Linked DNA regions of Homo sapiens: all the other regions are linked to region 2. The links are contacts of gene promoters, found by promoter capture Hi-C in blood cells and fetal thymus (Javierre and others, 2016). All regions are on one chromosome and are shown on one strand. Each heading gives the region's core, a stretch centred on a gene start or on the middle of the fragment in contact. The rest is flanking DNA. Distances are from core to core; before and after follow the strand shown.

Region 1 (2,700 bases), core at 81-2,580, 430 kb before region 2:
TTTGTCTCTGACCCAGAAGTCTCATGTCTTATACTGGTTGCTAGTTTTCAAGAAGGGTAAAATCTAAGACCCTTAGCAGTTCTTGACAACTGTTTCTGGAGTTTTTATTTCCCCAAAATATTGTCACTATTGCTTAGATGTCATACCTAGATGAATAACACTTGCCAAATAAATTTTTGAGTCAAGTTGAATGAAATAATTACCTTTTACTGGGAACCTATCAGTGGTTCTCACCCATGCTAGCCTCATGACTACTGTGTACACTATAGAGTATTATCTCCATTTTGCAAATGAAGAAACTGAGGTATAAGGACATTATTTTCCCCAATATCCTACAGCTCACAAATGTTAGAACTAAGGTCTGAAGCTAGTCCAATGTTCTTTCTGCCACTATTGCCTCTTAAAACATTTTAGCTACAGAAATATTAACTTTCAGACCAAATTATGAAGGTCACTGGGAACGGAAAAATGATTGTTTAAAGAGAAAATTTAAGCTTCAGAGAAGAAGGAAAGGGAGAAGTGAAGAATAAATAAGGAAGAAAAAAATAGAAAGAGGAGAGACAAAAAGGGATAAAAAAATATGTCCAAATAACTTTACAGGGCAAATAGAGGGCTGGGGTCCCTACAACAAGAGTTGGGAGCAGAACAGGGTTATGAGGCTCGCCAGAGGAACTTGGTGTAGACCTGTAAAAAGTAGCAGAGCACCCAGGGTGAAGCCTAGGAAGAGCCAAACAGCCAATCTAAATAAAGTACCAATCAGGCAAAGGGCTAGAGTCCAGGGAAATGGGGCAGTCATCATTGTCTCCTAGAAAGAGCAGGCAGAGAACAGCGTCCAGGGAAAGAAACCGGTAGTTTGCGAGGGGGGATAGGAGAGATTTCTCCAAGCACAGGAAGAGTGTAGCTGGGCCCATCAATGGCCATTGTCCGATATGTGTTTGTCCATTTTGTTTTGCTTGGACGTCAACGGCCTTGTGTGTGTGCAAAAAAGAGCTTTTAAGGACCCCAATCTGGTTTGGACAAGGTGACAGAAGCCAAAAGTTACCTTGGTTGAGTCTTAAGGGAATGAATTTTGAGAGTTACCTGTTCAAAAGCCAAAATGTTCAAATCCCGAAATGTTCACATCAATCACCAAAGATGCCCCCGAAATGTTCACATCAATCGCCAAAGATGCCCGCAGTGAGTGTTTGTTTTCTTGTTTGTATCTCTGTTTCAACTCAGTTGTACTTTGAGCTACACAGATCCTTCAAAAGAATAAAAGCTGGGTTTCTTAACCCCCGCTTTGGTTAGCGTGTATGCTTTCAGCACCTATGTTTAGTATTTTTTAGAATGTAGCCTTTGTAAACTTCACCCACTGTATTTTGCTGAAGTCAGACTCACCCTTTGTTCACCAGTAATCAGCAAACATTTGTTAGTGACGACAGTGGCACTCTGGTTAGCCCTCCTCTTTTTTTTTTTTTTTTTTTTCCTTGCAGAGCATAGTTGAAATAATTTGGGAAAGTTTCTCTTCTTCAAGGAGCTGGGAAAGAATGATGAATGGGCCCCTTGTTCTGATGCATCCTTCTATTTCCTGCAGAGGAAAAAACTGACGGCTGCTAATCTCTGTGTGTTCAGGAGCTCTACCTTCCTTCCTAATAAGATCGCTGTTGTAATAAGCATGTGCCATGGAGGTGAAGCAGAGTTTCCCATTATTTATTAGGCCTGAGTCCTCATTAGTAACTTCTTTATAAAATAAACATGAGGCTTTGCAGAAATGGGGAACAAGAGCCTACTTCATACAAAGTACAATGATAAATGTCTCCTGTGGCCCCAGATTCCAACGCTTAACATCTGTGATCTCCCCATCTCCATGGCAACATAAAGTAAATAGTAAAAATAGTCCAAATCCAGGAAAAACACAGCAGGGAATGTCTGTCCTAAAGGAAAACAAACGCTTAACATGCACTCATACATGAGCAAGAGGACCCACATGAAATGTAGCAGTTGGTCAATAGGAAAACAACAGAGAGTGGGGAATGAAGGGTCTTCAAGCTAGCAGACAAGAAATGTCAGATGATTTGAAGAAGTGTTGTCTGCTTTCAGTAGGAGGCCTGAAGGGAACATTGTGTCTTATATTCATGGGCTTGTACAGTGTGTATTTTACATTTTGTACAAATGTGTTTTGAATTATAAGCTTGTCATATTACACTAGATTTAAAGGGAACCATAGATTATAAAAGTAATAGCATCAAACAAAGAGTTGAGAACTGGTGATTTGGTGTTTGCCATGTAACTTCTTAGCAAAGCTGTGGTCTGCCTAACAGACCCTCTGAATCTTCTCCCTACCTGTAGCCCAACAGCCTGGGGCTGTTCCTGATATTCGCTATAGGCCGCTGGAACAGGAGGCTCTGTGGCCTCCCTGTGTCCCCCACAGTTGTGGCAAGAGCAGTGGAGCAGCCCTCTGGAAGAGAAGAATGTTCCCCTTAGGGGTGCAAGAAAATGCCTGGGAATAGGATATTTTCAAGAACGGCGATTTTCAGTTAATTTAATTTTCTGATTAACTGCAGTGACTTTGGGCCTTTCAACTCACTGAGCCTGGTTTAAGTCATCTGCAAAAAAAAAAAAAAAAAGGATGGGGTACTTCATGACCCTGGAGTCCTGCCAGCCTTGGAATTCTGCAATTCTATGAATTGAGCACAAGGCATGATTTTGTTTCAGCCTTTG
Region 2 (2,700 bases), core at 81-2,580:
TCCAAGCATGTTATTTAGAGAACTGAGGTAAATGCCTAAAGAATGAGCACAGGTGAAAGTGCTTGCCTCTGAAGAGGAAGAAAGGGAGAGTGTGGGACTGCCGATTTTCGTAAGTTTTGAAAAACTGACTCTTTGAAAACTAGGTACATGATAACCTTGAATAAATTTCATAAATATAAATATGTTTCTATCTCTTCTATATCACTTCACTCACCAGTATTGAGTTTTCAGAGTAACTACTGTATATTAGTATCTAAAAGTTAATTTTCTGTCTTAAAGGCATTAATATGGATGCTAGACTAAATATACAGAAATTCCACTTTTCATAATAATAGCTACCATTACTATGGTCCCAGTATTGTACTAAGCACTTATATTATCTCCAGTCCCCAGAGCAACCATGCAAAGTAGGTACTGTTTCCATTTTACAGATAAGAAATTGATGCTCAAAGAGATTAAATAATTTGCTAGTATGTAGCAGAACTCTCTGATCTCAAAGCCTCTGTTCTTCCTTCCTCCTGGATCCCATCACCTCTTTCTAGAGTTTGCGTTTAAAAGAACTAGGGGCAGGGGGAGGGCAATGTAGCAGTTCAAATAACTCCTCCTTTGGAGGAAGGGCAAGGAAGCAGAAGAGAACCGCTGAAGGATTCAGCAATAGCACTAGGTAGCAGTCTCATGTAACCAAGTTTAACCCACAGTTGAAATTTCCAGTTGGTCATGTGAGCAACGGAAGCAATTTTTAAACTCTGGCCAGGAGCCCCAATGCTTACAAAAATAAAAGCTTTGTTCGGCTCTTATTTTGAAATAAAATAGATGTTCCAGCTGCTCCAACATGGGCCTAAACACTGCAGTGAGAATGCTCAGGACACAAAGTTTTGTGTCCAGAGAAGCCCAGTCATCATTACAAAATTGATCTCTAAAAGGGGTTGGGGGACAGACGGCATAGCTGCTTCCCAAGGAAATGAGTAGGAGGTGACCTGGGTCCTGACTGCCACACTGGCTGGGAGCTTGGACCAGATGATCCTGATGGGTTTCTTCTGAATAAAATTCCGGGTTGTGTTTATCTTGCAGTTTAAATCACTGGGAGCTTCGAGAGTTCTTTGGCTCCTTCCCTTTCTGGAATTATTGTGTGATATAATCAAGACATTTACCTGGCTCTTTAAATCAGTTGGTTTGCCGGCTACAGTGTAGGTAAAGAGTATGTCATAATGGACAATAAAAAGTTGTTTACATACCTCATTTCTGAAAAGTCATGGGCCACTGGCAAGTTAGGAAACGAAAGTGAAATCAGCTGATAGTGACATCAGTCAGAACAAATGTACCAAAGTTCAGAGAGCTGTTTACTAGGCACGACTGCGAAGGCAAGGGGGCACCAGCTCAGGACTGCATCTGCCTGCCATTTCCCTTCCACTCCTCCTTTCTGGAGTCTGACATTAGAAAGCCAGCGAGAAGGAAGATTCAAACAACCAACCCTGATTTCCTGCTTCTCCTTTTCATGAGTGTTCCTGTGGTCTCTGCACCTCCTTTCTGTAAGTACCGATCCTGCAAGCATCACAGCTTACCCAGACGTCTACTACCTTGTAAGACAATTTTGTTTTCTTCTCAGATATTTCATGTTCTGGCAATCCACATAGGGGAACTCACTGGTTGTTCAGTATCTGTGACCCTCCCTCGCTCATGTCTGTATAATCTACATAATCTACCCCCTTTACTCTCTGCTCTCCTTCCTTCCACTCTTCGGCATCAACATGTGTAGCTCTGGCCTCAAAGATGATGAAAGTAAGGCCAGTATAACTGGTTAGAAACGATGCAGGGCTGACTGCACACAGCAGAGTCTTGCACGCAGTGTGTACAAGGACATGGCTGTGGCTTGTGCAATACACTGTTCATCAGAAATAGGTAAACAAAAGCAGGTCACCGACCAACACTAACTAAACCACTATTCAATGGTAGTTACGAACACATCATAAAACTTTAAAATACACACTGAAGATTAATATCAACAGAAAAACTTGTGTTCTTGCCTCAAAGAATGGGACCTAAGAGATGTTTAGATCTTATGTTAGTCATTAGACCAGATTGCTCCTCATGCCCCAGTGGAAATCCATGGTGGTATTTTAGTTCTCTTGATGCATATTTTAAGAGATTTTTTTTAATGTGGGCTTAGTTTCACTAATAACTTCCACTATGCTTCTTCGCCTATAAAATCAAAGGCTCCTTTGAAAGAGGGAAAAGACACATATTTCCTTCTTCCCTCATGATAACTGAAGAGCATTTTTCAGTATCCACTTACCATACCCCATTCCCCAAAATCTCAGGTCTGAGACTCAGTCCATGAGATATTTTTTCAATCTTGCACATATTCCCCTTTCTCAACTTTCTTTCCAGCTTAGTCCCTGCTTTATCTAATTACTAAGGCTGTTTTGAATGCCTGTTTTATAAATTTCTTTTTTTTTCATAAATGTAGCACATAATTCTAAAAATATTTTACTGCAAATAGAGAACAATTGCCTGTAATGTCACCACCCAGAGCTACCACAGCTAACATTAACATTTTCAAATACTTCTTTAGTCTCTTTCTCCTATGCCTCTTTATATGGATGTAGTCACACTATGTAGAGTGATTTTATACCTGCTTTTTCTAAAAGATGCATAGTATTTTATCCTTGATACATCATAGTTTACTTCTGATATTGGACT
Region 3 (2,711 bases), core at 104-2,603, 470 kb before region 2:
TCATAAGTTTCTGAGATGGGAGAGCAACAAGTAGAGATGAAGTTAAAGGTATTTATCATTCAAGAAATCATTATTGAGTCACCATTGACAGGCACTATTCTAATCAGTAGTTCACTTTAATATTTAATAAGATTTTCTGGGATAACAGTAAGGGATATTAGATAATATACCGTATGTATTTATTACTAGTCTTTTCCTCTAGGAAAAGGGATACTTTGATAATTAAGGCCAGAGGCCCATTAGTTGAGAAAGTCACAGATATATTTCTCCAAGAAAGCCAACAACCACCACCACAATGACAGAAATGACAACAAGGCCCTTTAACTTGTCTTCTAGTTTAGAGACATCCTTCATTTGACATTTAGTAGAATTCCTCTTTGGCCACAAGAATAAGCAGCAAATAAACAACTATGGCTGTTGAGGTTCTCATTTTGGTTTGTTTTAATTTTTTGAACTTTGGGTACCTGTAATTAGTTTAAAAATAAAGTTCCTGATAATAAAGTGACTGAAAATGGCATCCCCAAAGTGTCTCCGTGTGTTTGGTGAATTTTAGGTAGGCTTCTAAACTAGTCTTTGACTCATACTTTCCTGTAACACTCAAAGAAAGAATTGCACTTATTTCAACACAACAGATACTCATGATTTTCTATATGTTGAAGCATGAAGCAGGGAAGGTAGAATACAGTGCATGTAACTTCATTCACATAAGCAGAGGGAATGGTATATTGGGGCTTGTGACATAAATTTGTTCATTAACTAACTGATGGCAAAAGATTATGGTATGTAGCACGGAGCAGTCAGGGTAGGCCATGGACACGATTGCATATCTGTCTTAATGATACTCTTTTGCACTATGTTTTAGATGCTGTGGGTACGTAAGTCATCATTTCTTTAAGCCGTTGACTCTGTTTCAAAGCAGGTCACATATATTTCGATGATAAAGTCATGTAAAACATTTGTAGCTATAATACCTGTTATAGATATTTTCCATTTTTTTCATGGTTTTTCATTGGATTAGTTTATTTTTATCCACTTTATAGTACAATTGGCATTTGAAGAATACTAACTTTAAAGTATTTTTGCTACTGCTTTGTCTCCATTTGATTATTAACGCAAGACTTTTAACGATTAGCCAAAGAAGATGGTTGAAAAGAAGAACCTGCTCTGCCTGCAGCTGGCCACATCTGTGATGCATAAGGACATGGAATGTGGATGCTTTACATTTATTAATTACCTACTATTGGTTTCTCTAGTGTAGCCCCTTCGTTTTAGTGGTGTTGATTAACCAAGTAATACTCTAGAATTCAAATATCAGGGTCAAGAATGCAACTACCAGATGATGTTCGTAGAATTCCAAACCTATGGCTAGGCTGCCATAGTGATATTCACACCATTTTTGAATATCATCATCTCTGGAACTGGCCTCTGAGTTTTCCAGCCCAAGGGGTGACCATGTCTTAATGTACTTCAAGATCCTAGAGTTGGATTCTTCCATTGTCCTGCATCAAGGTATCTTCTTCCAGGGAACCTTCTGGCAGCATGATGTGCTTCTGCACACAAAGCAACTGTCATATCCAGTCACTTTAGAATCTCACAGGCTTCCCAAGAAAAGGATGATTTTTGCTAATACAGTACTCTGTGATACAATTTGGTCTTACTGTTTTTGAGATCTTGGCTGAAAAAATATGAACAGAAGAGCCTTTTTTTTTTTTTTTTTGAGACGGAGTCTCACACTTTTGCTTAGGCTGGAGTGCAGTGGCACGACCTCGGCTCACTGCAAGCTCCACCTCCCGGGTTCATGCCATTCTCCTGCCTCAGCCTCCCGAGTAGCTGAGACTACAGGTGCCCGCCACCACACCTGGCTAATTTTTTGTATTTTTAGTAGAGATGGGGTTTCACCATGTTAGCCAGGATGGTCTCAATCTCCCAACCTCGTGATCCACCCCCCTCGGCCTCCCAAAGTGCTGGGATTACAGGCGTGAGCCACCGTGCCCGGCCAAGACATTTTTTTAAATGTCACTTAAAATTAGTTAACAACTCCAGCACTTCAACCTTAGGATCACCTAGTGAACCTGTTTTCTTTGCATTGTTAACAGTTTATCCAGAATTTCTGATGCAGGAATCTTGAAGGCTGCTTATTCTCTATCCCAGTCTTGGCATCCTTCTATTCTGAGGCTGGGACAGAAATTAGGGATTTATTTTCTCCTATAAAAAAAAAAGAGGGAATGACAATGACCAGCCCAGCCATGGTGGCCCCTGCCTGTAATCCCAGCACTCTGGGAGGCTGAGGCAGGAGGATTGCTCGAGCTGAGAAATTCGAGAGCAGCCTAGGCAACATAGCAAGACTTTGTCTCTACTGAAGAAAAAAAAGACAGCCTATCTAGGAATTAGGTCCTTGGAGGAGGCAGCCTATCCTGCTGCCAGTTTACGCTTTCCCTGGAGCCAGCTATGCATGTCTCCTCTGCCCAGGCTGAGATGATTGTCCCATGTGGGTCAGTGTGGCAAGATAAAGGCAATAGCAACATCAGCTGCTCCCAGAGTTTTAACTTTTAAAAAGCCTCTCAAACTAGTACCGTATCCCAGTACACTGAGAATGGTTTTTCTAAAAGAGCAGTACTGCATCAGAAGAGAAGATTTTGCATTGTGTAGTACCAATATGGGCATCAAATTAACGAAATATCCTTGGTTAGAATACATTATGGCTAATGTAT
Region 4 (2,702 bases), core at 33-2,532, 280 kb before region 2:
AGGTGGGGTTTTTAGGGCAGTGAAGCTATTCTGTATGATGCTACTATGGTGAATACATGACATTCGGTATTTGGTGAAACCTATGAAACTGTGCAACAAAGAGTGAACCTTAATGTAAACTATGAACTTTAGTTAATCATAATGCATGAATACTGGTTTGTCAATTGGAACAAATGTACCACACTACTGCAAGATGTTCCTAAGTTTCCTAGGGCTGCCATAACAAAGTACCACACACTAGTTGGTCTATAATAACAGTAATTTCTTGTCCCACTGTTACGGAGAGTTGAAGTTTGAAATGGAGGTGTCAGCATGGCCAGGCTCCCTCTGAAGGCACTGGGGAAGGGTTTGTCCCATTTCTCTTTCTCAGCTTTCTGGTGGCCTTAGGTCTTCCTTGTCTCCATTTTCTCATGGCATCTCACCATGTCTTCACATTATCTCCCCTCTGTGTTTGTCTGTCTCTGTGCCAAATTTCCCCTTTTCATAAGGACACCATCATATTGGATAAGGGACCACCCTAATCACCTCATCTTGACTACATCTGCAAAGACTCTATCTCCAAATGCAGGAGAAAATGTGGGCAGGAGTTGGGGAGGGGGGAATATATGGAAACTCTGTACTCTCTATTCGCTTTTTTTCTGCTCTAAGAAATAAGTCTATTCATTAAAAATGTTAAAGGCTTAAAAAACAGCCTGCCACATAGTACATATTCAATAAATGTTAGTTCCTTTTGGATGCTGCATTAACTTATTCAGTGCCCCTGACACAACAGATTTTATTCTTCTTGCATTCCAAGATCAATACTGGCACTGCCCAAAAAGTAGATAAGACTTAGCTTCTTCCACATGGCCTTGTCCCTAAGTGTTGAGTGCTGGGTTAGCCACCTGCTCACAAACATCTCCTGCCTTGACTGCATTTACACACGTGCTCATGCACAGGTGACACAGGTGAGCATACCCACACACACCTAAAATGGCTTATCTGCCACCAACACTGACCCAAACAAAAGCAGAAACTTACTAGTTCCCCTTATAAAGGCATCACAGGAAATATCTATAGTGAGGGCTACATGCCCATAGAGGGAAAAAGAAAAACAGCAAAAAAGAATATAAAACATAATACATTTCTTGGTTGAAAGATGCACATCAGCTATTGAACTAAATTTTTAAAGGAAACGAGCCATAAATTGATTTTAATAAATATAAATATACTTTCATTTCCGACACAGGGTGGGAGACAGAGAAGAAAAAAAAGTCACAAAGAAAGAGAAAATTTTTTTTAATGTCAGAAGAAATACCACTCAATATTCTGCCTTTGAAAAGAGGCAGAGAAAAAAAAGCAAGGAGGAAGGAAAGGAAAGAGAGGAAAGTCCCGGAAGCCCTGGCGTGGTGGTAAGATGCAGGACACGCCTCTCGTCACATCATGCCAATCCCCTGGGCCGCAGGCTCGTGGCTTTGTTCAAAAAGAAGGGCAGGCTGGGTGCGGTGGCTCATGCCTGTAATCCCAGCACTTTGGGAGGCCGAGGGGAGGATCACCTGAGGTCAGGAGTTAGAGACCAGCCTGGCCAACACGGTGAAACCCCGTCTCTACTAAAAATAAAAATTAGCCGGGTGTGGCGGTATACACCTGTAATCCCAGGTACTCAGGAGGCTGAAGCAGGAGAATTTCTCGAACCTGGGAGGCAAAGGCTGCAGTGAGCCGAGATCGCGCCATTGCACTCCAGCCTGGGTGACAAGAGTGAAACTCCATCTCAAAAAAAAAAAAAAGGAAGGGCAGTGTGTTTGGTGATTTGAAATCTTTTTTCTTTCCTTTTTTTTTTTTGAGATGGAGTCTCGCTCTGTCGCTCAGACTGGAGTGAAGCGGCTCAATCTCAGCTCACTGCAACCTCCACCTCACGAGTTCAAGTGATTCTCCTGCCTCAGCCTCCTGAGTAGCTAGGATTATAGGCACCTGCCATCACACCCAGCTAATTTTTTGTGTGTTTAGTAAAGATGGGGTTTCACCGTGTTGGCCAGGCTGGTCTCGAACTCCTGACCTCAAGTGATCCACCCACCTTGGCCTCCCAAAGTGCTGGGATTACAGGCATGAGCCACTGCATCTGGCCTGAAACCTTTAACACTGACTTATTTCTTAATCATGGCAGTTTAGGCATGCCCTGTTTTAAAAGAAAATCCTATCTATGAGAATCCATATTGAAAACACAGACATATCCATAGGTAATGACATCTGCCTCTGTTAAGGTTTTTGTTTTTCCCCTCTTTACAAAAGAAGTCACCTCAGTAAATTTTTCAATAGCATGACCACAGTCCCTCCTCCAGCACAAAAATTTAGATTTTCATAAAACTCTCCGAGAACGCATCATCTGTCACTAACATCAATACTTAGCTCTTTCACACTACTCTATTTGTGACACCCAGAGCCTCACGACTGATGGAATCACCCTGTCTTGACTTTTCATCCCTTCATTGGTTGAGAGTTTGTTTCCTAACCAATGTTGCTGAAAAGAATTCAGCACTGAGTAGGGGTAGGGCAGGAAATGAGGGATTACTGCCTGGGGACTGGGGACGTAGAAGAGAAAAAGAAAATCACTTACCATTCTACCTAGACATGTCTCCTCTTACAAAGGAAAGATGCTAGAGAAGGGCTGAAAAGCTCTGTGATATAAGGGTGCAGGGATGAAGGAGGATCTCCAGCCCCATCCT
Region 5 (2,700 bases), core at 150-2,649, 440 kb before region 2:
GAGGTCCGGTCCCGCCCAGGCTGCCTGACTCTTCTTGTGAGTTAGGAGAAGGGAGTGAGAGAGGCCAGAATCCGACCATGTGAGCTTTAATCCCCTTTGTGATATAGTCTGTGCTTACAAATGGTTAAGACAGTGTGTGGCTTTGCCTCTTTTTCTGCCCACATGCTGACAATTTTGTTGAACAAAATTACAAGAATAGCACAAGGATAACCTTTCCCCTGCCCTCTGCATGGGTCTTCCCGACATTGTTATGCTCGCCTGTCTTGTGCTATTAGATCAGCTTTCTTATTGCATCTATGCATTGTGGAACATTCTGGCTACAAGCCTGCGTGCTGGAGCCAGACTGCCTGGGTTCAAATCCCACCACTACCTCTGCTGGCTGTGACGTTTGGCAAGTTCCTTAACCTCTGTCTTCAGTTTTCTTGCCTGAACAGTAAGGAAGGGGATCAGATCCTCTCAAAGGTGCTGCTCAGCCCTGACATGATTGTGCTTTTATTTATTTAAAAAACATAAAAATGATGACTGTGCCTATTACAGGAAGGAATGGAACAGAAGGAGCAGGCAGTGGTGAGAGAAAGATGGATCAAAGAGCCTTTCCCTTCAGCTATAAACCAGCTTCTCTTGTTTCTCTTTGCCTTGCTTTTAAGGTATCTCTGACTACAGAGGAAGAAGAACACGGGAACTTTGAGTTGTTATTATTGAGGAAGACAGGATGATCAGGAATTTGACCAGGAAGCCCAGGTCACATCTAACATCAGTGAGGCAGTGACTGGTTAAAGGCTTGATGAGAACTGGCTGTCTGGCCCCAGGCTGCCAGGAATAGCGGGGGTCAATGACCTATAAAACCTTAGGCTGTATCAGCTTGGGTGGACTAAGTGATTACCATGTCTCCCTAGAAGCTAGTCTGGAAGCCATCCGCAGGGGAATTTGAACTAATGAACCAGGGCCACTGGGGATGGGACCCAGGAATCTGGATTTTAACCAGCATCTCAGCTGACTCTTAGGCTTCAGGTTTAGAACCACTGATGTGGTCCATTCTTCTCACCGACAAAACAAGGACCAGCTCTTTCTTTTTTCTCTGCTTCTTTTCAGACAGAAGGTGTTCGGGGTAGAGAAGCAGAGTTTGATCTCAGTGCTGCTTCTTCTTCTAAGCCACCGTGTTCAGAGAGCTAAGCATAAGGCAGAATGGAGGTGAGAAATCGCTCAGAAATTCTCAAAGCCCAGGCAAAGGGAGATTTGATTTCCTTTTGCATGCTTCCCCGAAGTATGTTAATTCTGGCGTAAACATGGTCTGAGGCATTACTAGGGTGAGGAGAAAGGCGTGCTGAGAAAGGAGGCCCTTACTCTCATAGGCCTTTCGTTGCAGGTCACAGGATGTCACTGATGGGTTGTTCTGAAAGCATTTGCCCCCTGCCACCCCCACCAAGCAGAGTCCTACCCGCTTACGAAAGCAGTTTCTTTGAGGTCAAAGGCTGAGAACAAACTGCAAATAAAAGCATCAGTCTCCTTTGCAGCTGACTCACTTAGGTCACCCCAGGGAGCAGCCAAACCACTGTATAAGGGAGGGACAGCTCAATTTGAGGCATGTATAAATTAGGAAATGTGTAGTACTAATGGATAATTAATAGGTTGTTTTATTTGCAGAGCCGATAGACAAATTTGGCATTCCGTGTGTTCAGACCTTTAAATATTTATAACCAAGAGCCTACAGGAGTACTGTTTCTGTAGAGACTTTTCTGATAGAGTATTGTGAATTTCAAAGTGCCCTTGGCTAAGCCTTTCTGCGATTTCATTCCACTTTTTTTTTTTTCTGCATATAATGGCTAAAGAAATTTTCCTGGGTCACCTTAGTAAACACTGTGTGGTAGTACTTTGAATGTTGTAGGGACCTGGGATACACCCACTACGCAGGGCTAACTACCAAGCAAAGAAGTCCCTTTGCTCATTAGAACAGATGGAAGGGCCAAACCTATCACAATTTAACTTTGAGAAACCACAGGACCTCATTGCCAATAGACTTTTTCTGAGGTGGGCCCTGGAGACCCCTCTGAAAAGTATTTCAGGAAATGTGAGAAGTTCGTGTCCTCTTAGAAAAACTTCAGCTACTCCTAGGGAGTCATAAGCAAACCCCAAATTCCAGAAAGGGGCTTCTTGGGGATTTTGAGACTTTGGGGAGTTTGAGAACTTGACCTTCCCAGAGTACCCTAGAGAGGGGTGAACTGATCAAGAACCATACACTCCATGGTACCACCTGCAAACCCTCTTCCTCACACCCAAAGGGAGTTCTTGGCCCTCACTGGGACTCCTTGCACCCCGGGGAAATGGGTCCAGGAGAGTTGAGCAACTCATCCAAAGTCCCACTACAGTGAGTGTCAGGGCTAGGGTTCAAGCTCACATCTGCCAAACCTCAAAGCCACACTGCAATATAATTATGAAAATAATACGATACTTTTGGTTACTGAGGCATGCTTCGCTGAACCTCAGATTCCTTACCTATCAAGCAGGGCTAATAACACCCACACGCAGAGTTAAGGTCAGTGTCAAATGAGATGATATGCTTATGTCGAGCACCCAACATTGTTTCTGGAACATAGAAGATGCATAACATAGGATTGCTATAATTTTTACTGTTGTTGGAGAGTGGAAACAAATCAGTGGGTTAAGGGAAGAGTGCACATTATTGTCTATAACCCAATAAAG

The links. Contacts are between HindIII fragments. The CHiCAGO score rates a contact against its expected background, and 5 or more counts as called.
Region 1: a fragment that was not itself captured here is called in contact with the fragment with the promoter of TMEM140 in region 2 in 2 of 17 cell types (non-activated CD4 T cells and total CD4 T cells); the score reaches 6.1 in non-activated CD4 T cells.
Region 3: a contact is called between a fragment that was not itself captured here and the fragment with the promoter of TMEM140 in region 2, in 2 of 17 cell types (non-activated CD4 T cells and naive CD8 T cells). The highest score is 5.8, in non-activated CD4 T cells.
Region 4: a contact is called between a fragment that was not itself captured here and the fragment with the promoter of TMEM140 in region 2, in 1 of 17 cell types (naive CD4 T cells). The highest score is 6.4, in naive CD4 T cells.
Region 5: a contact is called between a fragment that was not itself captured here and the fragment with the promoter of TMEM140 in region 2, in 1 of 17 cell types (naive CD8 T cells). The highest score is 5.0, in naive CD8 T cells.

What each region holds. Positions count from the first base shown.
Region 1 is chr7:134,718,741-134,721,440 of GRCh38, forward strand. All of the region lies in intron 1 of LOC124901750 (a long non-coding RNA gene), which reads right to left. It also overlaps a transcript of CALD1 not described here. Among named protein-coding and RNA genes, the nearest start is that of CALD1, 60 kb to the right of the region's middle. The HindIII fragment of the contact is 1,676 bases long and covers 493-2,168 here.
Region 2 is chr7:135,146,742-135,149,441 of GRCh38, forward strand. TMEM140 (transmembrane protein 140) reads left to right here and starts at 1,331. Exons shown (of 2, transcript NM_018295.5): 1 at 1,331-1,529. It also overlaps a transcript of CYREN not described here. RefSeq lists an enhancer at 1,110-1,609. The HindIII fragment of the contact is 6,449 bases long and covers 780-2,700 here.
Region 3 is chr7:134,679,292-134,682,002 of GRCh38, forward strand. BPGM (bisphosphoglycerate mutase) reads left to right here. Exons shown (of 3, transcript NM_001724.5): 3 at 1-525. All of the region lies in intron 1 of LOC124901750 (a long non-coding RNA gene), which reads right to left. Among named protein-coding and RNA genes, the nearest start is that of BPGM, 34 kb to the left of the region's middle. The HindIII fragment of the contact is 8,564 bases long and covers 1-2,711 here.
Region 4 is chr7:134,862,596-134,865,297 of GRCh38, forward strand. All of the region lies in intron 2 of CALD1 (caldesmon 1), which reads left to right. Among named protein-coding and RNA genes, the nearest start is that of CALD1, 84 kb to the left of the region's middle. The HindIII fragment of the contact is 8,480 bases long and covers 1-2,702 here.
Region 5 is chr7:134,702,561-134,705,260 of GRCh38, forward strand. The region is part of intron 1 of LOC124901750 (a long non-coding RNA gene); the gene reads right to left. Among named protein-coding and RNA genes, the nearest start is that of BPGM, 57 kb to the left of the region's middle. RefSeq lists silencers at 337-631, 1,202-1,412. The HindIII fragment of the contact is 3,656 bases long and covers 1-2,700 here.